Regions from separate parts of the Homo sapiens genome. Here all the other regions are linked to region 1. Evidence: promoter capture Hi-C in human tissues and cell types (Jung and others, 2019). All regions are on one chromosome and are shown on one strand. The core of a region is centred on a gene start or on the middle of the fragment in contact, and the rest is flanking DNA. Distances in the headings are between cores, read along the strand shown. Region 1 holds the start of UBA52 (ubiquitin A-52 residue ribosomal protein fusion product 1). Region 2 holds the start of SLC25A42 (solute carrier family 25 member 42). Region 3 has its middle 25 kb from the start of HOMER3. Region 4 holds the start of RAB3A (RAB3A, member RAS oncogene family).

Region 1 (5,811 bases), core at 268-2,767:
TCTCAATGGTGTCACTGGGCTCGACCTCAAGGGTGATGGTTTTGCCAGTGAGGGTCTTCACAAAGATCTGCATGTTTGCGTCTGCAGGAGGAAGGGAGGCAGGATAGACTGGTGAGCAATGCATGCCTGAGTAGCACAAGCTCAGGTGCCTACACCACAGTTGCTATCCCTTTGCCTGCACCAAGTCCAACTGGTCCTGCCCCAGTACCTGTCTTCCTTTCACTCCTCCAAGCCTGGCCCTGCTAGGCTTCTCACACACCCTGGCCTGTAGTCTAAACATGTCCTGGAACTAAAGACCACATGTCCTCCACCCTCCTGACCGCACGGGTGCTCTTCAGGAACACAGACTGTGGTTATTCTCCTTAGGTTTAGCGGCGGAAGGACTCGTCAGTATCTCCTGATGGAATAAGTACCCTTTGGCATCATCTTGCTAGATCCATCTTCCCTGAAGGCGGTCCCACCCTCTTCCACGGCAGCCAGGTCCTGATCTGCACAGGCTGCTCCTGCTGCCAGCCTGGATGGGAAGCCATCCCCTACAACACACATGCCTTCCTGTCGCAGCCTCTCTCCTCTCTAACTCCAAGCTGGAGCACCCAACACTCTTAGCTTCCTTCTCAATTACACCAAAACTCTCCAGACCCCACTTCTTGCCTTGACCCCAAACCACGAACATCACTTAGTATCTACCAACCACCTGCCAAGCATTGTTCACATATAAAAGTTGACTTAAAAAGACAAAGAATCGACCGGGCGCAGGGGCTCATGCCTGTAATCCCAGCACTTTGGAAGGCCGAGGCAGACGGATCATTTGAGGTCAAGAGTTCAAGATGAGCCTGGCTAACATGGTGAAACTCCGTCTCTACTAAAACTACAAAAATCAACTGGGCGTGGTGGCAGGCGCCTATAATCCCAGCTACTCGGGAGGCTGAGGCAGAAGAATCGCTCGAGCCCGGGAGGTGGAGATTGCAGTGAGCCGAGACCGCACCACTGAACTCCAGCTTAGGCGACAGAGCAAGACTCCATCTGAAAAAAATACAAATAGTCTAAAGAAAAGTCTAAAAAGCAGACACTACCACCAGCTCCTCCTTACAGACGTAGTAATGGAGCCAGGTATGAAGACTCAGCTCGAGAAATTTAGTATTTCCAAAGCGACTGACGCAGTGACTGGCAGAGTTAACGCTACACGCTCAATACCCCTCTCTCATTAACTCGGATCTGCCCCGAGGACCTCTTCCCGCCCGAGGCCTCGTGGGGTCACGCTGGCAGGCAGAGCAGGCAGGCTCCTCTCCAAAACGGCGCTCGCCTCCTGGGCCCCGGTCTGGGCTCCGAGCCGTGGCCTCGCGAGCCCTGCCCAGCCACCCTGCCGAGACTGGCCCGCATGAGCCAGCTCAGGGCCGCCTCTTCTGCCGCCCAGGCCCCTGCAGCCTCCCGCAGCCCCCAACCCGCTCTCGGCCCGGCGCGAACCCGCACGACCGCCGCCACCAACCAGCTCGGCCGCCTCGCTGAAGAAAAAGAAGATAGCGGAACCGGAAACCACCTAATCGCCGCCGAAAGCGCTTGCGCACGGAGCACGCCGGACGCCTGCGTCACAATTCGCGCCGCGCCTTGGGCCCCGCCCTGCCGCCATCTTGGATGCTGGCGAACGAAGCCGCAGCGCACGTGGGTGAAGGTCGCCCACCCGCTTCCGGTTGTGGGCCCCGCCCGCCGAGTCACTTGAGACGATTGCACCTCTCCCCGTGTTTGCGTCCGCTGCCTCTAGGCCACTGACAACCGCTGGCGGTTGGCGGGCCCTCAGCGAATAGCTGAACGGAGTAGAGGAGAATGTTTTCTAATAAAGCAAAGGTATTAAGCAGAGGACTGCGGGTCCAGGACGCAGGAGTCGGGGCTGGGAAAGCACCTAACACCTGGAATCGGTTATTATAAAGCTCTCGGCCGCTGTGCCTGAATGGATTTCAGGACAGCAGCAGGGAGAGCAGACGGTACTACCGCATTCGCCCAGAAAGGTGGTGGTGCCTGACAAAAGGTGTCAAGCGGGACTCAGGATTTTTTTTTTTTTTTTTTTTGAGACGGAGTTTCGCTCTCGTTGCCCAGGCTGTAGTGCAATGGCGCGATCTCGGCTCACCGCAACCTCCGCCTCCTGGGTTCAAGCAATTCTCCTGCCTCAGCCTCCCGAGTAGCTGCGATTACAAGTGTGCGACACCATGCCTGGCCACTTTTGTATTTTTAGTAGAGACGGGGTTTCTCCATGTTGGTCAGGCTGGTCTCAAACTCGCGACCTCAGGTGATCCGCCCGCCTTGGCCTCCCAAAGTGCTGGGATTACAGACGTGAGCCACTGCAGTGTCTCTTTTCAGTGTAGGATCCAGATTTGTGGGTGGTTAAAAAGTGCCAGGGCGGGACCTGGGTCCGGTGACTCACGCCTGCACTTTGGGAGGCCGAGATGTGCGGATCACCTGAGGTCGGGAGTTCGAGACGAGCCTGACCAACATGGAGAAACCGCATCTCTACTAAAAATACAAAATTAGCTGGGCGTGGTGGCGCATGCCTGTAATCCCAGCTACTCAGGAGGCTGAGGCAGGAGAATCGCTTGAACCCGGGAGGCAGAGGTTGCAATTAGCCGAGAGAGTGCCATTGCACTACAGCCTGGGCAACAAGAGCAAAACTCCGTCTCAAAAAAGAAAAAAAAAATTACAAAAATTTTTCAGGTGTGGTGGCGGGTGCCTGTAATCCCAGCTACTCAGGAGGCTGAGGCAGGAGAATCGCTTGAATCCGGGAGGTGGAGGTTGCAGTGAGCTGAGTTCACGCCACTGCACCCAGCCTGGGTGACAGAGTGAGACTCCATCTCAAAAAAAAAAAAAAAAAAAAAAAGTGCCACGGCGGGTGCAGTGGTTCACACTTGTAATCCCAGCACTTTGGAAGGTCAAAGAGGGAGGATTACTTGAGGTCAGGAATTCACGACCAGCCTGGAAGACATAGTGAGACCCTGTCTCTACAAAAAAAAGTTTTATTTTGAACTATCCAGGTGTGGTGGTGCGCACCTGCAGTCCCAGCTACTTCGGAGGCAGGAGGATTGCCTGAACCCATAGGTTTGAGATTGCAGTGACCCATGATTCAGCCACTGCACTCCAGCCTGGGCAACAGAGAGGTGCTGTCTCAAAAACAAAACAAAAAAAAAAAGTGCTGAGTACAGAGAAGATGGGGAGCAATGAGAAGTTACCTATAGGCTTAACAGGGGTACCTGTTTATTTCCTTGAACATTTGCAGGCACTACTATACCAGGCAAAAGCAGACACTCTCACGTCTGGGAAGATGCCTTTAAGAACCTAATTTCCTTTTCTTTTTTGAGACAACAGTTTTGGTCTTTTTGCCCAGGCTAGAGTGCAGTGGTGCGATCTTGGCTCACTGCAACCTCTGCCTCCTGGATTCAAGCAATTCTGCCTCAGCCTCCCAAGTAGCTGGGATTACAGGTGTACACCACCACACCCAGCTAATTTTTATATTTTTGGTAGAGATGGGGTTTCACCATGTTGGCCAGGCTGGTCTCGAACTCCTGACCTCAGGTGATCCACCCACCTCGGCCTCCCAAAGTGCTGGGATTACAGGCATGAGCCACCAAGCCCGGTCATAACAACATAATTTCTAAGTACTCAGAAGATGAGGTAACCCTGGGAGTGTGTCTGATGGGGAATGGATCTAGTGTGGCTCCCCTATCTGGAGGAAGGCTGAGATCTGGAGAAGGAATTATGAAATGAGGATGGGAACACTAGTATTGTGAGCAGTGACAGCAGCGTGAGGGAAGACCTAGCTGGTGACGGGAACTTGGGTTGTTATAGCTCCCACCAGGGGGGGTTCCAAAAAAGGGCCACATCTCTTTCTAGCCCTGTAGTGCCTGATTGTCTGCACCTCCCTCCAGCAGGGCCCCCAGCCCCACATCCAGCACTTGCCCTCCTTTTGGGTTGCTTGGCTTAAGGACTGAAGAAGCCACAGCTAGGTGTACTTTTCCCTTTTTAGTAATGGTGTCTTTTTATTGATAACTTCCCAACAGCATCTGTAAACATCGGGTACAAAAATATTCCATTAAACTCTTTCCCGAGGTGGCTCCGTTTGCTCCATGGAGGCCTTCAGAGAGGCCTGCTGGCCCCTCAGGTTCCACACCTCTATTCAGAGAAACACAGAACTCAGCACGCTCAGGGCTGAATGGATGGCCAGCCTCCGTCTCAAGACTTCTACCTATCTCAGAAACCTCCTTGAGATACCAAGGAGAAAGTATTTGATACTTTTACGGAGCAAGGGGCAGGAAAAGCAGAATTAGTGGGTGCGGGGGTGGGCTGGGGTGAACTCAGAGGAGACCGTGCTTGTGCACCTCAAGGAGGTCCTGACCGGTGGTGGGGGACATCTGGCTCTGGTGTCTGGGAACCTTCTAAGCATTCTTCAGAGCAGACGTCAGGCTCAGCTCTGGAAAAATTCCCCTGTGCCCAGCCCCACGACTCCAGCTGGAATGGGCGTGCCCTGGCATGGCAGAGGGGTCTTGCAGAATAGAGATGTTCTGAGGAAGGAAGGAGCCAGAATTAAAGACCCCCCCAGGAATTCCACACCCCTCGGGAGAGAGCCTTGTCCCCCTAGGAGCCCTGGGTGACAGAACGGGGCAGCAAAGGAGCCCTGGATGACAGAACAAGGCAGGGTTACCCGCTGCCACCTTGTATGCTGCTGCCCTGAGACCCCCTCAAGGCACCGGGCAGCAGGGCTATTCGCCCGTCATCTCCTCGTCATCTGTCTGGCTGCGGCCGTTGATGGCTGGGGAGCCAGGCTGGACATGGGACAGGTCCTCGAAGCCGGGGCTCAGGGAGGGCGAGACGGTGTCGGGGCTGGTGTCACATGAGCCCGTGCTCTGTTCTGAGGTGGCAATGGTGGTCGTGGTGCTGGGTGGGATGGGGTCTTCATCCTCTTCCTCCAGGAAGGATGCCTCTGGGATATCTGGGGGAAGGAGGCCCAAGAGTTGGTTTTGTCACCTTGCCAAGCTCTGTGATGTAGGACTTATTGTCCATGTGACCCCTAACGGCTGCCCTCACCCCATGGGGGTATGACTTGACCCTTTTTTTTTTTTTTTTTTGAGACGGAGTTTCGCTCTTTGCCCAGGCTAGAGTGCAATGGTATAATCTCGGCTCACTGCAACCTCCGTCTCCCGGGTTCAAGCGATTCTTCTGCCTTAACCTCCTGAGTAGCTGAGACTACAGATGCCCATCATCACGCCCATCTAATTTTGTATTTTTACTAGAGACGGGGTTTCTCTATGTTGGTCAGGCTGGTATCGAACTCCCGACCTCAGGTGATCCACCCGCCTCAGCCTCCCAAAGTGTTGGGATTACAGGCATGAGCCACCGCGCCTGGCAGACTTGGCCCATTTTTATTTTGTAGAGGAGAAAACTGAGGCCCAGGCAGGGAAGAGCCCTCCCTTCAAGGTGAGGTGAGGAAGGGACACAAGATCTGGGGTTAGGCCTACAGGAGCCCTGAGGGCGAACCTGGCTCACTGCACTACCTGGGCTAGGTATATGACCTCCCCTCAGCCCAGCTCCCTGCTCTGTAAACTGCTGTTGGAGGCCCTGGGATGGAGAGCTGTCGGCCTTTTCAACAGATGGTGTGAACCCAGGCTCAGCCTGCAGAGCCCTTTAAGGTGGTGGCAACATGGAATGGTACCCCAGAGAACACGCGAGCTCTCTAGCCAGACAGATGCGAACTCAAGTCCTGCCCCTCTGGGCCTCTGTTTCCCTCTCCATGAAACGGTGATACTCACAGTCCCCACCCCATGGGTGACT
Region 2 (5,811 bases), core at 1,079-3,578, 490 kb before region 1:
CCTTTCTGCCACCCCAGTCATAGACTACCTCTGGAAGAAAACATAAGAAATTATCAACAGCAGGTGCATCTGAGGAGGAACGGGGTACAGGCTGGGGAAGACCTGACTGATTTCTACTATGTGACCTTTTGTACTGTTTGATTTTTTCTTTTTAACTATATAATAGGCCGGGTGTGGTGGCTCACGCCTGTAATCCCAGCATCTTGGGAGGCTGAGGCGAGCAGATCACTTGGGGTCAGGAGTGCGAGACCAGCCTAGCCAACATGGTGAAACCCCGTTTCTATTAAAAATACAAAAATTAGCTGGGTGTGGTGGCACATGCCTGTAATCCCAGCTACTCAGGAGGCTGAGGTAGGAGAACTGCATGAACCCAGGAGGCAGAGGTTGCCGTGAGCCGAGATCACACCACTGCACTCCAGCCTGGGCAACAGAGCAAGACTCCGTCTCAAAAAAAACCCAAAAACTATATACTCAATGATCTTGCCAAAGTTTATACACATGTACATATATAACACACACGAAATATGTATATATAAAATATGTATATAAACATATGAATATTATAGGTACATGTACATATGTGTACAACACACACACATATACATACATATATACATACATGCCCATATATGTTTTAAATGACTCCTATTGAAGTTGGACAGAAAACCCAAATGGCTTCAGTTTCCACAGGAGAAGCTGAAGGTGACATGACCCTCTGAAACATTCTGGTACCGTCTTTGCAGGGAGCGGTGGGAGGGGGTAAGAAACGCTCCAGGAGCCTTACAGGAAATGGCACGTTATTGCTTTTCAACAACAAAGCCACTGTCCTCCTTCTATGCTGCATGCTTGCAAATCAGACTCAAGGGAACTAAAAAATTCCAGAAGAATCATTCCTAGCACCACCCAGGCTCGTTTTGCAGGTTAGCTTTAAACAGCTGAAACATTAGTTTGCCTCACTCTAAAGAGTGTTTCCTTACTCTTTATCGGCTTCAAGGGCCCAGGGAGTGTCGGAGAGGGGTCCCGGGTCTGCAAGAGCTGGGAGCCCCGGCCCCGGCAACCCCCTCTCCGGCATCCTGCAGGAGGCACCCAAGATGATGAGCCCCCCTCCTCCGGCAGCGTCTCCACCGCCAGCCTGCCCCAGGACTCCGAGACACACGCTTGGCAGAGGGGCCGTCCCTTCCAGCTAAGCCTTTCCGGACCCAGTCAAAGTCACGACTCCTGCCAATCCCTCTGAGATAAACATAACAGATGGGCCCAAACGCGGTGGGTCCACAGCAGAGGGTCAGCGATGCCCAGGGTAGAATAGGCTCTGCCTCTAGCATTCAAGTGGTTTAGGTCTGTGGCTGGTAAAATGGAGATGATTCCGGTTTGGTCTGACAGATGGGATTATTCTAAGGTCCGGAAATCACTTTATAGACTGTCAAGCACTGTTAGAAATGAACACTGGGGTAAGCTTTTGTTTGGGGAGGGGAGGGTGCAGCGATCCTGAGATACCAAGGCTTGGGGGACTATTGGAGGACCTGGGGGATTCGGGGGGATTATTACAGAGGGTGTGCGAACACAGGTGCACGTGGAAGAAAGCCCAAGGTGGGAGAGAGAAAAGGGGGAGACAGAGGTGTGGGGCTGCCAGGGCAGAGGGCAGGTGCCAGGGGGAAGGTCCCTGAGAAGAGAGACACAGGTTGCTGGGGGAGTGGGCACGAGAGTAGCGAGCAGATACCTGGATATGAGGAAAGGCAGTGGGGGACGGGACTAGGTCCAGGTGTGAGTTGCGAGGCCATGAGTTAGGAGTCACAGGCTCAGGTGTGGGTGTGGGGGTGTCATCGACAAGGACAGACTCAGGTGATGTGGGGGGTGTTCGTGAGTGGGGGCGGGTGTTCGTGAGTGGGGGCGCGGTGTCAGGTGTGTGAGGGGGATGTCAGACCCAGCTGTGCGGGGCGCCGGGGACAAGGCCCCAGGGGTGTGGGAGATGTCAGCAAGGACAGTCTAAAGTGTATGGGGGATGTCAACGAAAAGGGACGTGGTGTCAGGCGTGCGTGGACTGCGGGTGACGGGCTCAAACCTGGATGCAGTAGCCCCCAGGGGGCAGTAGACGTGGAGTGTGGGGTTGGGGGGGGTCTTTAACCTCTTCCTGCCCTCGCGACGCTACTGTCATGCCCCGCCTCATCCGCCCCTCGCCCCGGGATCCATGACAGGACCCGTGCCTCACCTCAGTTCAGCCCGACAGGCGCGGGCCGCTGACGCTTGGGCCCCCCCGGCGCCCCCCGCGCCCCCTCACCGGCCCGGACGCGTCGCCGCCGCCGCTACCTCCAGCCGCCACGGCCCCGCCTCGCGCACCCCCAGAGCGCGCCACGGGAGGGGTCCACGCCACGCCCCGATTGGCTGCTCCCTGGCCAGTCAGCGCTGGAAGCGACAGTGATTGGCGAGTATGAAGCAGATGGGCAGCCCCTAAAGCCAATCGCTGATTGGCAGAGGTGGGGCTATTGGGAGAGGCCTGGGGTGCCTGAGTGGTCCCTCAGGGTGCTAGGCGCTGGGAGGCGAGGGCCTGGAGGCAGGCGAGGATTGGAATCTTGGCAGAAAACAGGCAGAACTGTCGGCCAATCGCTGGGGGCCAGGGGCGGGGCTACGAAGAAACTGGCGCTACCGGTGGGGCAGAGGCGAGAGGAACGGAGGGCGTAGCTTGGGGGGAGACCGGGATTGGCCGCAAAGCCGAAGACTGGCAGGCCCCGCGGCCAGTCGCAGCGGCCGTGGGCGGTACGCCCCCAGGGGAGGGCTGGAGCGTTCAAGGTGCAGTCCGACCCGGAGCGCGGCAACCCGACGTGGCCTCGGACGCCTGGCGCAGGGTCCCCTGAGGCTCTCGTGTAGAGCCCGCCCTCTGGCCACCTAGCACAGAAGCGGATGTGAACTTGGACCATCAAGGCTGAAGGACTCCTGGATAATTCTCTATCCCCTTACTCCCCACTAATCCCCTGCAGACGACACGGAGAGGGCAGATTCGCTGGAGGTCACTCTGAACTGCCCTCTCCATCTCGAGGTGGTGTGAAGACATGGAAATAAGGGGCGGAATCCTACTGAAACGCGCTGCGTGGTTTTCTGAGTGTCTGACCTCTCTGCGTCCCAGCTTTCCCCGCCACGGTATCCAGTGACATCCCTGTTGGGCCTTCTCCCTGCCAAGTCTTTTTTTGAATTAACTGAATCTTAACCACAATCCCATGAGGTCAGAGAGACCACTGGCTCCTTTTACAGAAACCAGAGCACAGAGAGGTCAAGCTCCTTGCCCAAGGTTACACAGCATTCTCTGGTTGCTAAACCAGAGAATGAATCTAGAGCAGCCTGCTTTTTGGAAAGAGTGTGTCAGAGAAGAGCCACTGGGGGCCTCAGAGACCTGGGTTTGAATCCTTGTCCAATCACTGGCCCACCACACAACCTTGGGCAAAAGCCCTTGTGAGCCTCAGCTGTTTCATTTGGAAAAGAGGGGGGAAAATGATTCCTATGCCTTGATCTTTCCTCTCTGGGGTTGCTTCCCTGGGAAAATTTACAACTCAGCTCTCATTTTAATTATCTGGTGAAAGCATTTGACCCTGAGCAGGTCATGTGCGGCCTGTGAGCCTCAGCTCCTCTGTGAAGTGCAGAAAAATGCCGGCAGTTTAGGGAGACACCTGCCATCCCAGGCATGGCTGTGTCATCGGCACCTCCCCCGAAGCCACTCTGTTCTATGACTCACCCTTCATCTTCAGGATGGAGAGGGCTACAAATGTTTCCAGATACCAGCTCTTATTTCCTCTAGGTGCTGGCCAGGGTTGGTGGAGATCAAGTTCAGAACCAGGGAATCCTGGGAGGGAGCAAGGCTGAAACCAACCTTAGAAAGGGCTCACATTTCAGGGCTGCACAAGCCCCTGCTAAGTGTGTGATCCACAAGTTTCAAATGGGGAGGATGTGACGGGAAATCACTAGCCCAAGGCCATCATCAAACTCCTGATATTCTCACGATATGCCTACCTGGACCTCCTCTCCCATACCTCCCACCTGTGGTTTGCTTCCTGGCAACTTCCAGGATCTGGCCTCCATTCTGCCCTCCAGAGAAGAGGGGGAAGCTGAGGTCAGTTGAACATCAATTGGGTGCCAGGTCCCCACTGGGCTTTCTCCAATACCATCTCCCCACCTCACTTCCAGGTGGACGTGACAGTGCCCACTTAGCAGATAAGAAAACTGAGCCTATGGTGGAGAATATTCCTTGGTGGAAGGACCCAGGGCTGAGTTTGAATCCCTGCTCTTTTTAACGTAAGTAATGGCCAGTAACAGCCACAGGACCTTCAGCAAATAACACAAGCTCCCCACTTCAGTTTCCCGGCTGTCTCCTAGGGCTGATGTGAGCATTGATGAAATGGAAGCAAAACACTTACAATGGCTTCGTCCACAGTAAGCACTCATGGAAGGCTGGTGATGATATATTGTTCTTCTCTGGGCCTGTTTCCCTCTCTGTAAATAGCGCTTCATGGACACAGACCAACTATGGGCGTGGCTTGCCACACCAAGAGGGAGATATCTACGCCGAGGAGCGCCCACTCCCAGTGCCCACCTGCCAGGCCCTGGGAGGGGGAGGTAACAAAGCTCCTGGAAGGTCCCACAGTGCCTCCAGGGACAGAGCCAACTAAGGCAAAGGTCAGGCTCTGGCCCAGCCTGGGGCTGCCTCTCTAGCTTCTGCTCGTTCTTTAGCAGGCTGGCGCCAGCCAACCTCCCTACCGCCTTCCAGCAATGGCAGGCAAAGCACCTTGGCAATAGCAATGGACACCCCCACCATGGGCACTCATGTAAGCCCAGCTAGGGTGCCCAGGATCTCGGCTCTTCTGCTTTGGCTGGCCAGCCCTGGACAGGACACTGCCTCTTCGCCCTCCAGTCTCCTCTACCTCTTGGGGATCCCAGGAATCATCTGTGAGCCAGGCCCTGGCACAGCGTCCAGGCCTAATCACCTGAGGCCCAAAGGCCTTTTGCCCAAGGTCAGGTTAACAGCTTTGGAAAAAGATGAGGGGCCTGGAGGCAGGCCAAGCTGTGGTCTCATCCCACCGCAGCCCCTCAAATGCCCATGAGTCTATTTCCTATCTGGAAAATGAGGTTTAGTCCAGCCTCTGGGAGATGTATGTTCACAACAGAAAAAATCTGTGTTCCTTTCCCAGGAGCCCAAGCCCATCCCTGGCTGGAGGGAGACATCCTGAACACAGCAGTGACAACAACCAAGCCTGGCTGGGGTCAGAGTGGCCTCATTCACCTCCCAAGGCTCAGATAAGTCAGGCCACTTCACCAAGAGCCTACAGTAGCAGAGGCGTGGCCTGAACACACTCGCACCATCCTTGCAGCAGGCTCCACCTCAGCCCAGGTCTCGATGTCATCAAGGAGGACAGCAAAAGCTACTTAAGAGAAGGCCAGGGCCGGGTGCGGTGGCTCACGCCTGTAATCCTAGCACTTTGGGAGGCCGAGGCGGGCGGATCACGAGGTCAGGAGATCAAGACCATCCTGGCTAACAAGGTGAAACCCCATCTCTACTAAAAATACAAAAAAATTAGCCGGGGGTGGTGGCAGGCGCCTGTAATCCCAGCTACTCAGGAGGCTGAGGCAGGAGAATGGTGTGAACCTGGGAGGCAGAGCTTGCAGTGAGCCGAGATGGCGCCACTGCACTCCAGCCTGGGTGACAGAAAAGGGAAGGCGACGGGGATGGGGGCTGGGGGGAGTTATGTTCTGGACATCCCCTGAAGCGCGCCTTTCTAGGGGCTGTGGCCCTCCAGTGTGCCAGATCTAGCCTGAGTTCAGATGAGAAGG
Region 3 (5,811 bases), core at 1,370-3,869, 400 kb before region 1:
GCCGGGTGCGGTGGCTCACGCCTGTAATCCCAGCACTTTGGGAGGCCCAGGCAGGTGGATCACCTGAGGTCATGAGTTCAAGACCAGCCTGACCAGTATGGCGAGACTGCATCTGTACTAAAAATACAAAAATTAGCTGGGTGTGGTGGTGCGTGCCTGTAATCCCAGCTACTCCAGAGGCTGAGGCAGGAGAATCACTTGAACCTGGGAGGTGGAGGTTGCAGTGAGCCGAGATCGTAGCACTGCACTCCAGCCTGGGAGACAGAGCAAGCCTCCATCTCAAAAAAAAAAAGAAAGAAAGAAAGAAAGTGAAACCTCCGATAAAAGGGAATCACTGTATACTATGTGAACAATTCAAATTTGCAGAGTCCCATCGAATACAGAATCCCACTCCCACCCCTTCAGTCCTTCCTGAGAGTCTGATGTGTTGTCTCTCCTATGGCCCAAATGTATGTGTCCTCCTGGAATTCATATGTGGAAGCCTAAGACCCATGTGACAATATGAAGAGGTGGGGGCCAGGCGCTGTGGTTCACACCTGTAACCCCAGCACTTTGGGAGGCCAAGGTGGGTGGATCACTTGAGGTCAGGAGTTAGAGACTAGCCTGGCCAACATGGTAAAACCCCGTCTCTACCAAAAATACAAAAAAATAGTCAAGCATGGTGGTACACACCAGCTACTTGGGAGGCTGAGGCAGGAGAATTGCTTGAACCTGGGAGGCAGAGGTTGCAGTGAGCTGAGATTGCACCACTGCACTCCAGCCTGGGGGAACGAACAAAACTCTGTCTCAAAAAAAAAAAAAAAAAAAATATATATATATATATATATATGACAGATGAGGTCTGCATATGTTGCCCAGGCTGGTCTAGAACTCCTGGCCTCAAGTGATCCTCCTGCCTCATCCTCCCATAGCACTGGAATTCTAGGCATGAACCCCCACACCTCCAATGATAGTTACTTTTTGCGAAGTGTTCAGGCAGGGCTGCTGGGACCCAGTACCACAGCAGCTCTATGAGTTGGAAACCATGGCCCAGAAGAGACTCAGAGTGAGAAAGGGCTTTCCCCAAAGGTGAATTTTTGTGTGTAGGGTGTGAGGTAGGGATCAAGGTTTATTTTGTGCCACACAGATACCCAGTTACTCCAGAAGAGTTTATTAAAAAGCCTGGGACTGGGCACAGTGGCTCACACTTTGGGAGGCCACGGCAGGCGGATCACAAGGTCAGGAGTTCGAGACCAGCCTGATCAACACGGTGAAACCCCATCTCTACTAAAAATACAAAAATTAGCCAGGTGTAGTGGTAGGTGCCTTTAATCCCAGCTACCCAGGAGGCTGAGGCTGGAGAATCACTTGAACTCAGGAGGTGGAGGGTGCGAAGACCCGAGATCCTGCCACTGCACTCCTGCCTGGTGACAGAGCAAGACTCTGTCTTAAAAAATAATAATAATAAATAAAATAAAATAAAAATAAAAATAAAAAGCCCATCCTTGCCCAAGCTCACAGAGGTAACCAGAGATGAAGCAGGGATTCCAACCTGCATTCCTCTGAGTCAACCTGGAACATTCTCCAAGTCTCCAGAGAGCCTGTCGTCATGGCCAGCTGAGCATGCTTTGCCCTGTCAGCAAAATGCAGTATTTGAAAAGTCACGAGCGTTTCAAAAGGAAGCAGAGTGAGGCGGCCTGGGTCAGCTCCAAGGTGCTTCCTTCCTGCAGGGATGGTGCAATATCCCCAACTGTCTACTGCCCGTTGTGACTTCACCTTCTTATACATTTATTTTTTATTTTTATTTTTTTATTTTCCTGCCTTATTCCAAGAGAGAAGGCTGCGTGTGCATTTCCGTCGGGGAGGTATTTGCCGAGGGGAAGTTCACAGTCATACCCATATCCAGAACCTTTGTGCATTGGGAGATGTTCCAGAGGAACTGCTCTGCCCTCCGGCCTGGTGGGGCAAACACCTGCTTACCCCAAAGCATCAGGATTGCAGGGGGCACAGCCAGGCTCCCAGGCCACTCTCAGAGCTGCCCAGTGCTCCCTAAGCCTCCCCAAATCAGAGAGAGAGTCCTCAAGCACTCAGAAAAATCTAGGAACCTCCCTAGGCTCCTCCTTCTGCCAACTTCTCATAGCCCTCCCAACCCAGGCAGCAGAACGTCTCTCCCTGGAGCCTGTTCCTGCTGACTGTTTTGTTTGTTTGTTTTTTGAGACAGAGTCTCTCTCTGTCACCCAGGCTGACTGGAGTGCAGTGGAACAATCTTGGCTCACTGCAACCTTTGCCTCCCAGGTTCAAGTGATTCTCCTTTCAAGTGATTCTCCTGTCTCACCCTCCCTAGTAGCTGGGATTACAGGCGTGTGCCACCACTCCCGGCTAATTTTTGTATTTTTAGTAGAAACGGAGTTTCACCATGTTGGCCAGGCTGGTCTCAAACTCCTGACCTCAGGTGATCCACCCACCTCAGCCTCTCAAAGTGCTGGGATTACAGACATGAGCCACCGTGCCCAGCTTTTTTTTTTTTTTTTTTTTTTTGAGTTGGAGTCTCGCCCTGTCACCCAGGCTGGAGTGCAGTGGTGCGATCTCAGTTTACTGCAACCTCCACCTCCTGGGTTCAAGTGATTCTCCTGCCTCAGCCTCCCAAGTAGCTGGGACTACAGGCACCTGACACCATGCCTGGCTAATTTTTGTGTTTTTAGTAGAGACAGGGTTTCACCATATTGGCCAGGCTGATCTCGAACTCCTGACCTCAGGTGATCTGCCCGCCACAGCCTCCCAAAGTGCTGGGATTACAGGCGTGAGCCACCATGCCTAGCCCCTGCTTATTGTTTGTTTGTTTTATAGAAATGGTGTCTCAATAAGTTGCCCAGGCCGGCCTCAAACTCCTGGCTTCAAGTGTTCCCTCCCACTGGAGTAGTGTTGTTGTCTGGGGTAAATACCCAAGATTTGTTGTCTCACAGGCCCGGAAAACTAGGACTCAGACATACAAAGAGTGAGGTTCAGAGTGGAAGTTTAATCGGTGAAAGAAAGAGAAGCGCTCTCTCTGCTGCAGAGAGAGGGATCTTGAACGGGTTTCCACTTCCTCAGTAAAAAGCAGTGAGTTTTATGGATGAGCTTAAGGAGGTGGTGTCTGATTTCCATAGGGCACAAAAGATTGGTTGGACCAGGTGTTTCATTTGCATAGGGTGTAAAAACCTGGTTAAGGCTATGTGTGTAATTTGCATAGGGTGTGAAAAGCTGGCCTTCCCATCCTAATCTTTTTTTTCTTTCTTTTCTTTCTTTTTTTTTTTTTTTTTTTGAGTCTCCCAGGTGGAGTGCAATGGTGCGATCTCAGCTCACTGCAACCTCTGCCTCCCTGGTTCAAGCAATTCTCCTGCCTCAACCTCCTGAGTAGCTGGGATTACAGGTGCCTGCAACCATGCCCGGCTAATTTTTTTAGTAGAGATGGGGTTTCACTATGTTGGCCAGGCTGGTCTCTTGGCCAGGCTGGTCTCAAACTCTGACCTCATGATCTGCTGCCTCATCCTCCCAAAGTGCTGTGATTACAGGCATGAACCACTGCGCCTGGCTTCTTAATCTTTTATTATGCAGATGAGTTCTCTAGCTGGCTGGCGCCATGTTGCCTGTTCATTTTTTTTTGTCGCCCAGGTTGGAGTGCAGTGGCTCGATCTTGGCTTACTGCAACCTCTACCTCCTGGGTTCCCGCGATTCTCCTGCCTCAGCTTCCTGAGTAGCTGAGATTATAGGCGCCCACCACCATGCCTGGCTAATTTTTGTATTTTTAGTAGAGACGGGGTTTCGCCATGTTGGCCAGGCTGGTCTCGAACTCCTGACCTCAGGTGATCCACCTGCCTCAGCCTCCCAAAGTGCTGGGATTTCAGGCATGAGCCACCGTGCCCAGCCAAACTAAAACCTGTTTCTTTACTGTACACGTAGTGACCAAAAAAAAGGGAAGCTGGAGCCCCCATGTTGAACATGCCAGGCCCTCAGGTGGCCCTTTTCCATTGACACAGCTGCTGGTATTCACCCCTGGAAGCTTCCCACTTGCTTATCCATGTCTGCAGCTCGATTTTTCAGGCTGTTTTTTGTTAGAAAAGAAATGAGTTGGCCGGGCGCTGTGGCTCACTCCTGTAATCCCAGCACTTTGGGAGGCCAAGGTGGGCAGATCACGAGGTCAAGAGATCGAGACCATCCTGGCCAACATGGTGAAACTCTGTCTCTGCTAAAAATACAAAAAATTAGCCGGGTGTGGTGGCAGGCACCTGTAATCCCAGCTGCTCGGGAGGCTGAGGCAGGAGAATCGCTTGAAGCCGGGAGGCGGAGGTTGCGGTGAGCCAAGCTCGCGCCGTTGCAATCCAGCCTGGGCAAAAAGAGCTAAACTCTGTCTCAAAAAAAAAAGAAAAAAAGAAAAGAAAAAAGAAATGAGTTGCGGCTGGGCACGGTGGCTCACGCCTGTAATCCCAAAACTTTGGGAGGCCGAGGTGGGTGAATCACAAGGTCAGGAGTTGAAGACCAGCCTGGCCAACATAGTGAAACCCCATCTCTACTAAAAATACCAAAATTAGCTGGGCATGGTGGCACATGCCTGTAATCCTAGCTACTTGGGAGGCTGAGGCAGGAGAGTAGCGTGAACCTGGGAGGCAGAGGTATCAGTGAGCCGAGATTGCACCACTCCACTCCAGCCTGGGCGACAGAGTGAGACTCCATCTCGTAAAAGAAGGCCGGGCACAGTGTCTCACGCCTGTAATCCCAGCACTTTGGGAGGCCGAGGTGGGTGGATCGCCTGAAGTCAGTAGTTTGAGACCAGCCTGGCCAACATGGTGAAACCCCGTCTCTACTAAAAATACAAAAATTAGCCGGGCATGGTGGCACACGCCTGTAATCCCAGCTACTCGGGAGGCTGAGACAGAATTGCTTGAACCAGGGAGGCAGAGGTTGCAGTGAGCCAAGATCGTGCCACTGCACTACAGCCTGGGTGACAAGAACGAAACTCCGTCTCAAAAAATAAAAATTAAAAAAAGAAAGAAATGATTTGGGGGGCTGCTTTTTGTTAAAAGAGAAATTCCCAGGACTCTTTTACCCTCACTGTCTGCCAAAATAATTTCTATCTCCTGTATCACGACCACAACCTCCCAAAGTGCTGGGATTATAGGTATGAGCCACAGCACCTGGCCCCAGCTCATTGTTTTGTTTTGGTTTTTTTCATTTTTTAAAACTCATGATCATTGTTCAATGCATTATTATTATTATTATTATTTTGTTGTTGTTGTTGTTGTTGTTTGTTGTTTTGGTGTTGTTTTTTGTTTTTTGAGACGGAGTCTCGCTCTTATCGCCCAGGCTGAAGTGCAATGGCGTGATGTCATCTCACTGCAACCTCTGCCTCCCGGGTTCAAACGATTCTCCTGCCTCAGCCTCCCCAGTAGATGGGGTTACAGGCACCCGCCACCACGCCTGGCTAATTTTTGTATTTTCAGTAGAGACTGGGTTTCACCATGTTTGCCAGGCTGGTGTTGAACTCCTGACCTCATGATCCGCCCACCTCAACCTCCCAAAGTTCTGGGATTACAGTCGTGAGCCACCAGGCCTGGCCTATTATTATTATTTTGAGACAGGTTCTCACTCTGTCTCCCAGGCTGGAGTGCAGTTGCAGTGGCACAATCACAGCTCACTGTAACCTCAAACTCCTGGGCTCAAGTGATCCTCCTACCTCAGCTTCACGCATAGCTGGGACTACAGGCACGTACCAATGTGCCTAGTTAATTTTTTATTTTTTGTAGAGACAGAGTCTTGCTATATTGCCCAGGTTCATCTCGAACTCCTGGCCTCAAG
Region 4 (5,811 bases), core at 2,173-4,672, 370 kb after region 1:
TAACTGCAACCTCCGCCTCCTGGGTTCAAACGATTCTCCTGCCTCAGTCTCCTGAGTAGCTGGGATTACAGGTGCCCACCACCATGCCCAGCTAATTTTTGTATTTTTAGTAGAGACTGGGTTTTCACCATGTTGGCCAGGCTGGTCTTGAACTCCTGACCTCATGATCCGCCTGCCTCGGCCTCCCAAAGTGCTGGGATTACAGGCATGAGCCACTGCACCCAGCCCTAGAATATTCATATTTCTTATAAATGAATATTCATATGTTCTCCTTCAGTTTGAGCCAAAGGCATTTGTCCCTCTCCTCTTACTGACTGCATCTGCTCTGGCCACACTGCAAGCCTGGTCCCACCACAGGGCCTTCAAACAAGCTGTTCCCACTACCTGGAATGCTTCTCTCTCAGCCCCCAGCCTCACCCATTAGATTTTTGTTTTTATTTTTGTTTTAGACAAAGTTTCGCTCTTGTTGCCCAGGCTGGAGGACAATGGCGTGATCTTGGCTCACTGCAACCTCTGCCTCCCGGGTTCAAGCGATTCTCCTGCCTCAGCCTCCCAAGTAGCAGGGATTACAGGCGACCGCCACCATGCCCGGCTAATATTTAGTAGAAATGGGGTTTCACCATGTTGACCACGCTGGTCTTGAACTTCTGACCTCAGGTGATCCACCCACCTCGGCCTCCCAAAGTGCTGGGATTACAGGCATGAGCCACCACACCTGGCCCCCACACTGGGTTTTAAGTTAGTGTCTTCTTCCCCGAGAAGTCGTCCCTGGACCCGTATCTGGGATACTTTTTTTTTTTTTTCTTGAGACAGAGTCTCCCTCTAGCACCTAGGCTGGCGTGCAGTGGTGCCGGTGATCTCAGCTCACTGCAACCTCCGCCTCCCTGGTTCATGCGATTCTCATGCCTGGGCCTCCTGAGCAGCCTCCTGGGACAGGCACCACCACACCGGGCTAATTTTTGTATTTTTAGCAGAGATGGGGTTTCACCATGTTGGCCAGGCTGGTCTCGAACTCCTGACCTCAAGGTCAAGGAGTGATCCTCCTGACTCGGCCTCCCAAAGTGCTGGTATTACAGGCATAAACCACCGCACCTGGCCACATTTTTATTTTTATTTGTCTAGTGTAGACGATAGGGTAGGGATGCAGGGAAGCCTCTGGACTTTCCTCTGAGTGGGACCGGCCTGGAAGCCTAGCCCGTTCTCCCACCAGCTCTGTCTCCCCTGACACAAAGAAAATACCCCAATCCCGCAGCCCCTCCCCCAGCTCAACCATTTCTAATTCCAGAGCCCAATGCTGCTCTGGACAATCAAGGGCTTGCATTCTTTTTAAATTTAAATTAAGTAATTAATTTTTTGAGACAGCGTCTCACTCTGTCGTCCAGGCTGGAGTGTAGTGGCGCGATACGGTTTCCTACAGCCTCGACCTCCTGAGCTCAAGTGATCCTCCTACTTCAGCCTCGGGAGTATTTGGGTCCACAAGCACGCGACACCACATCCAGCTAATTTTTAAATTTTTTGTAGAGATGGGGCCTCCCTATGTTACTCAGGCTGGTTTCCAATTCCTGGGCTCAAGCGATCCTCCCGCCTTGGTCTCCCAAAGTGGTGGGATTACAGGCGTAAGCCTCCGCACCCGGCTATTTTTACTTTAAAATACTAAGTCAGTGACGGAAGCTTCCGCACATTCTCGTGGCTCACTTTTCTCTTCCTGGGGAAAAAAGGCAGGAGGTATTTCCGAGAGAGCCACCCATGTAGGAAGCGTGCCTTTGGGCGATCAGGGAGCTGAGCAACCGAAAAACCTCCCCTCCAAGGAGGCGGCAGGCCAGGGCCTGGACCAGCTGCCCTGGAGCCCCCCACAGAGCACGGACTACCGCGTGGGCGCGGAGGGCAGGGAGAATGGGAGGTGGATTTCTTTTTATTTTTTGTTTTTCTGAATTTTCCCAATTTCTCTGCAGTGGATTGGTGATACTTCTATAGTCCGAGTGGGGGAGGAGGGAGCAAACATGTTACCCTAAAAAGAAAAAATAAATTTCCCAAATGTAAACGGTGCGGGGACGTGGGGGTGGGCGTCCCAGTACTCCCAGGGCACTGGGGGCGGGCTGGGGACTGGGTTGGCGGCGGCTGGGCCTCGAGGCGCTAAGTTATTCTGGTCTCTCGGCGCCTCCGCAGCTGGCGAGCTTTTTATAAACAGGACGAGTCACCCCCCGCCACACACACACGCTCCAGCCCCGCCTACTGGGAGGGGTGGGGGGAGAATCTAGGGGATCAGGACTCTCCTGGGGGCCACACACCCCTGGAGGGTTTGAAAGCTGGAGTAGGGGGAGCAGGAGACCCAAAGTGGGGGCTGGGGTTTCGGGCTCCTCCTCCCTCCCCAAATTCTGACTTCCTTCCCTAAAGATTTGGAGGAATAAAAGATGGACCATCTTAGCTCCCAAAAGGCTCCATCCTCTGAGTTTTGCTTTCCCAGGATGGAGGGAGGGGGTCTCCCAGCCCCCGGGTCTTTGAATCCGAGCTTTGAAGAGCTGGAGGCTTCGGCTCGTGCCCTCCCTGTTTCCCGGGGCATTTACCGCAGGCTTTAAGGGGTTTCCGGGACAGGTCGCTTCTCTGTCCCTGCTAAACCTTTTCTTCGAATTTTCTTCTTGATGACGGGGCGCAGGGAGGGGAGGGGGTTCCCAGAGAGTCCATCAGCCCCTTCCTCCTTTTCTGGGAATGGTGGGGAGGGGAGGCTCTCTTGACCTCTACTTCTTTCTTTTCAAACCTCAGAAACGGGGGAGGGGTGGAGTCTTTACTAGCCCCTCCCTCAGTGGGGGGGTCTTACGCCTCGGGAATGGGACAGGGGTCCCTCTTGACTCCTGTTTATTCTTTGGTATTTATTTTGAACCCCATATATGTGAGGGTATAAAACATCTCTTGGGCCTCGATTTTTCTTTTCTGCAATTGGGAGTCAGGGGCATTTAACAGGGGTCACAGCACCTTGGACTAGACGGTGGCCTCAAGAGTCCCCTACCTGGGGTGGGTGCGGGCGGGTAAGGGAACCGCCCCTCGAAGACCGGGGCTCAGCCAAGGCCTCAGCCTCTCGGCCCTTCAATCTCCCAGATGCCACCATTGGACAAGAGGAGGGCGTAGACAATCTCTGATTGGCTACTTCGCCCGTCGCTCGAGAGCTTAAGCCAGTGAGAGAACGCTGAGGGGCCCCGCCTCCCCGAGGCGGACAGGAGGCGGACGAGAGGCGGAGTCGGCCCCCGCGCCGCTCCCGCCCCTACTGGATGCACACGCTAGGCCCCGCCCCATTTGCACGTCAATCTGCTCAGGAGCCCTGCCCCATCTGGCTCTGCGTGCGTCAATGGGCCACATCTCTACGCGCGGCTCCGCCTCCGGATGGCGTCACGGACTTATCTACATGTGAGGCTCCGCCCCTCCCTTTGCAGGACGTCACGGAGGACTGCAGGGGCCTGAGCCGCTGCTGCCGCCGCCGCCGCGCAGCCCCACATCAACGCACCGGGGTCCTGTCACCGCCACCGCCAAAAAAGTCACCGCCGCTAGGGTCGCCGTTGCATCGGTGCAGGGCAAGGTGAGCTCCTGGGCGGCCGGGTGTGCTCAGGCTCCGAGCACCTGCATAACCTTCATTTGACTGATGGGCTGATGGAGGTGGGGGACGAGGTTGACTAGGGTTGAATGGGGGGAAGGATGCGGCGGTCGCGAGGCTGGGAATGGGTAGGGCCCGGGCGCCCCACTCCTGCCTGATCCTCACCACTAACCCCCCCAACCCCCCTGCTCTGCGGCGGAGGGGGAGGGGAGCCGAGCTCCTTGCGGGAAGCTGTGCGCGCGGGAGGCTTTTGCGTGCGCGTGCGCGTGGTGTGCACACGCGTGTGCGCGCCTGCCTGTGTCAGCGGGTCTGTGTGCACCCTTGCTTGTGTACCTGGATATGCTCGTGTGACGCCGTGGGGGTCTGGGCCTAAGTGTGTGAGCGTTGCACGCGCGTGGAGAAAGACGTGTGGACCGCCTGTGCAGGTATGGCCCGTGCATACAAGCACGGGGATCCGTGTCCGTGTGGGTGATGTGCACACGCCTGCATGGGTGGAGGGGCCTGTGCGCACGGGTGGTTTGCACATTTCTATAGGCGAGTCGGTGTGCAAACAGGTGTCTGTGTCTTTGTCCTGTGCACCTCAGTGCGTTCACACACTCCTGTATGTACGGATGAGCGTGTTTGAGGCTGTGTGCACGTGAGCGTGTGCATGCCCCTCCTGTATCATGTGATGCAGCGGCCTTGGCCGGAGCTCTCCGGCCTGGAGGTTTGCGGGGAGCGGGGGCTGCAGATGCGCGTCCTCGAGGGACCATGCACGCGGTGCACGTGGGGCCGCGCGGCCGGGTTCTGAGGACCATGAAAGATTGATGGGGGGCGGAGCCAGCCGCAGTCACCCCCTCCGGGCTCAGCCCTGGGTTTAGGGTTACAGCCCCACCTGGGGCACCTGCCCCTTGAAGGGGGCTGCTGGGGTGTCCCCATCGGCAACCCTCTGAGCCCCTCCTCTGAAACGCCCAGGATTTCAAGGTCACAGGCTGCCCTCTGCTGGGGGCACCACCAATTAATACTGGGGCTCCTGATGGGATAAGGGTGTCCTCCATACACCGGCCGTTTTCTGGAGCCCTTGCCATCTTCTGCCTGGGCTTGGGCACATGAGGATGGAGAGAGCCCCCCTCACGGCTCTGCTACACCCGGTATCCCCAGATGGCATCCGCCACAGACTCGCGCTATGGGCAGAAGGAGTCCTCGGATCAGAACTTCGACTACATGTTCAAGATTCTCATCATCGGCAACAGCAGCGTGGGCAAGACGTCCTTCCTCTTCCGCTATGCTGACGACTCGTTCACGCCTGCCTTCGTCAGCACCGTGGGCATCGACTTCAAGGTCAAGACCATCTATCGCAACGACAAGAGGATCAAGCTGCAGATCTGGGTGGGTCCCAGCTGGAGGGCTCCCGCCCGGCTCGGTTGGATTCCCGTACTTGGAAAAGCAGCCCCAACCTCGTCTATCTCTTTCCTGACTGGAGTCATTCACTTACACACTGGGCATTTATCAGTAAGGTGCCCACTGTGTACCGGGGCAGAAACAGCACCTGTGTTCTCCCATAAGCACCTAATCCTGGTCCCTCAGTTTCCCCATCTTCAAGTTCTTCCATGTATGAGGTTTCAGCTGGATCTTGGTCCCCATTCTCTTTTTTTGTTTGTTTTTTGAGACAGGGTGGTCTTGCTCTGTCCCCTAGGCTGGAATGCAGTTACGTGATCACGGCTCTCTGCAGCCTCGACTTCCCAGGCTCAAACCATTCTTCCACCTGAGCCTCCTGAGTAGCTAGGACCACGGGCTTCTACCACCACGCCTGCTGATTTTTTTCTTTTTTGTAGAGACAGGGTCGGGCTATGTCTGCCCAGGCTGGTCTTGAACTCCTGGGCTCAAGCGATCCTCCCACCTCAGCCTCTCAAAGTGCTAAGATTACAGGCATGAGCCACCCCACCTGGCCTTGTTAGTTTTAAGAGACAGAGTCTCACTCTGTTGCCCAGGCTGGATTTGAACTCGTGGGCTCAAGCAATCCTCCCGCCTCAGCTTCCCAAGTAGCTGGGAGTACAGGCAAGTGTCAGCTTCCTTTAATTTTTAAACCTACAGTTAAATTCTCTCCATCTTCATCTGGCTTGATTTTTCTCCTTGGTCCTTGTCACTCTCCAATATAGGATACATTTATACCGTTATTTTCTATTTCCCACACTGAGTGTCACTTAGCAAGGGAAGTGCCCATCTTGTTAACAACTGTGTCCCCAGTG

Evidence for each region. Contacts are between HindIII fragments. The study calls those that stand out against the background at their distance.
Region 2: the fragment with the promoter of SLC25A42 here is called in contact with the fragment with the promoter of UBA52 in region 1 in 2 of the 25 tissues and cell types used here (lymphoblastoid cells and spleen).
Region 3: a fragment that was not itself captured here is called in contact with the fragment with the promoter of UBA52 in region 1 in 1 of the 25 tissues and cell types used here (spleen).
Region 4: the fragment with the promoter of RAB3A here is called in contact with the fragment with the promoter of UBA52 in region 1 in 1 of the 25 tissues and cell types used here (dorsolateral prefrontal cortex).

The regions. Positions count from the first base shown.
Region 1 is chr19:18,567,563-18,573,373 of GRCh38, reverse strand. UBA52 (ubiquitin A-52 residue ribosomal protein fusion product 1) reads right to left here and starts at 1,517. Exons shown (of 5, transcript NM_001033930.3): 1 at 1,465-1,517; 2 at 1-81. The coding sequence starts at 73. It overlaps KXD1 (KxDL motif containing 1), which reads right to left. Exons shown (of 5, transcript NM_024069.4): 5 at 3,996-4,972. The coding sequence ends at 4,743. RefSeq lists enhancers at 152-828, 1,467-1,806, 2,017-2,136, 1,507-2,183. The HindIII fragment of the contact is 7,230 bases long and covers 1-3,728 here.
Region 2 is chr19:19,060,511-19,066,321 of GRCh38, reverse strand. It overlaps SLC25A42 (solute carrier family 25 member 42), which reads right to left and starts at 2,328. Exons shown (of 8, transcript NM_178526.5): 1 at 2,207-2,328. LOC124904655 (a long non-coding RNA gene) reads left to right here and starts at 2,797. Exons shown (of 3, transcript XR_007067160.1): 1 at 2,797-3,132; 2 at 4,171-4,278; 3 at 5,172-5,496. RefSeq lists silencers at 2,157-2,426, 2,687-2,856. The HindIII fragment of the contact is 11,421 bases long and covers 77-5,811 here.
Region 3 is chr19:18,963,784-18,969,594 of GRCh38, reverse strand. No RefSeq gene overlaps it. Among named protein-coding and RNA genes, the nearest start is that of HOMER3, 25 kb to the right of the region's middle. The HindIII fragment of the contact is 8,790 bases long and covers 1-5,811 here.
Region 4 is chr19:18,201,653-18,207,463 of GRCh38, reverse strand. It overlaps RAB3A (RAB3A, member RAS oncogene family), which reads left to right and starts at 3,422. Exons shown (of 5, transcript NM_002866.5): 1 at 3,422-3,568; 2 at 4,724-4,951. The coding sequence starts at 4,724. It overlaps LOC102725254 (a long non-coding RNA gene), which reads right to left and starts at 2,734. Exons shown (of 2, transcript NR_134910.1): 1 at 2,565-2,734; 2 at 1,901-2,008. RefSeq lists silencers at 2,071-2,130, 3,016-3,405 and enhancers at 2,786-2,885, 3,071-3,365, 3,398-4,180. The HindIII fragment of the contact is 10,728 bases long and covers 1-5,811 here.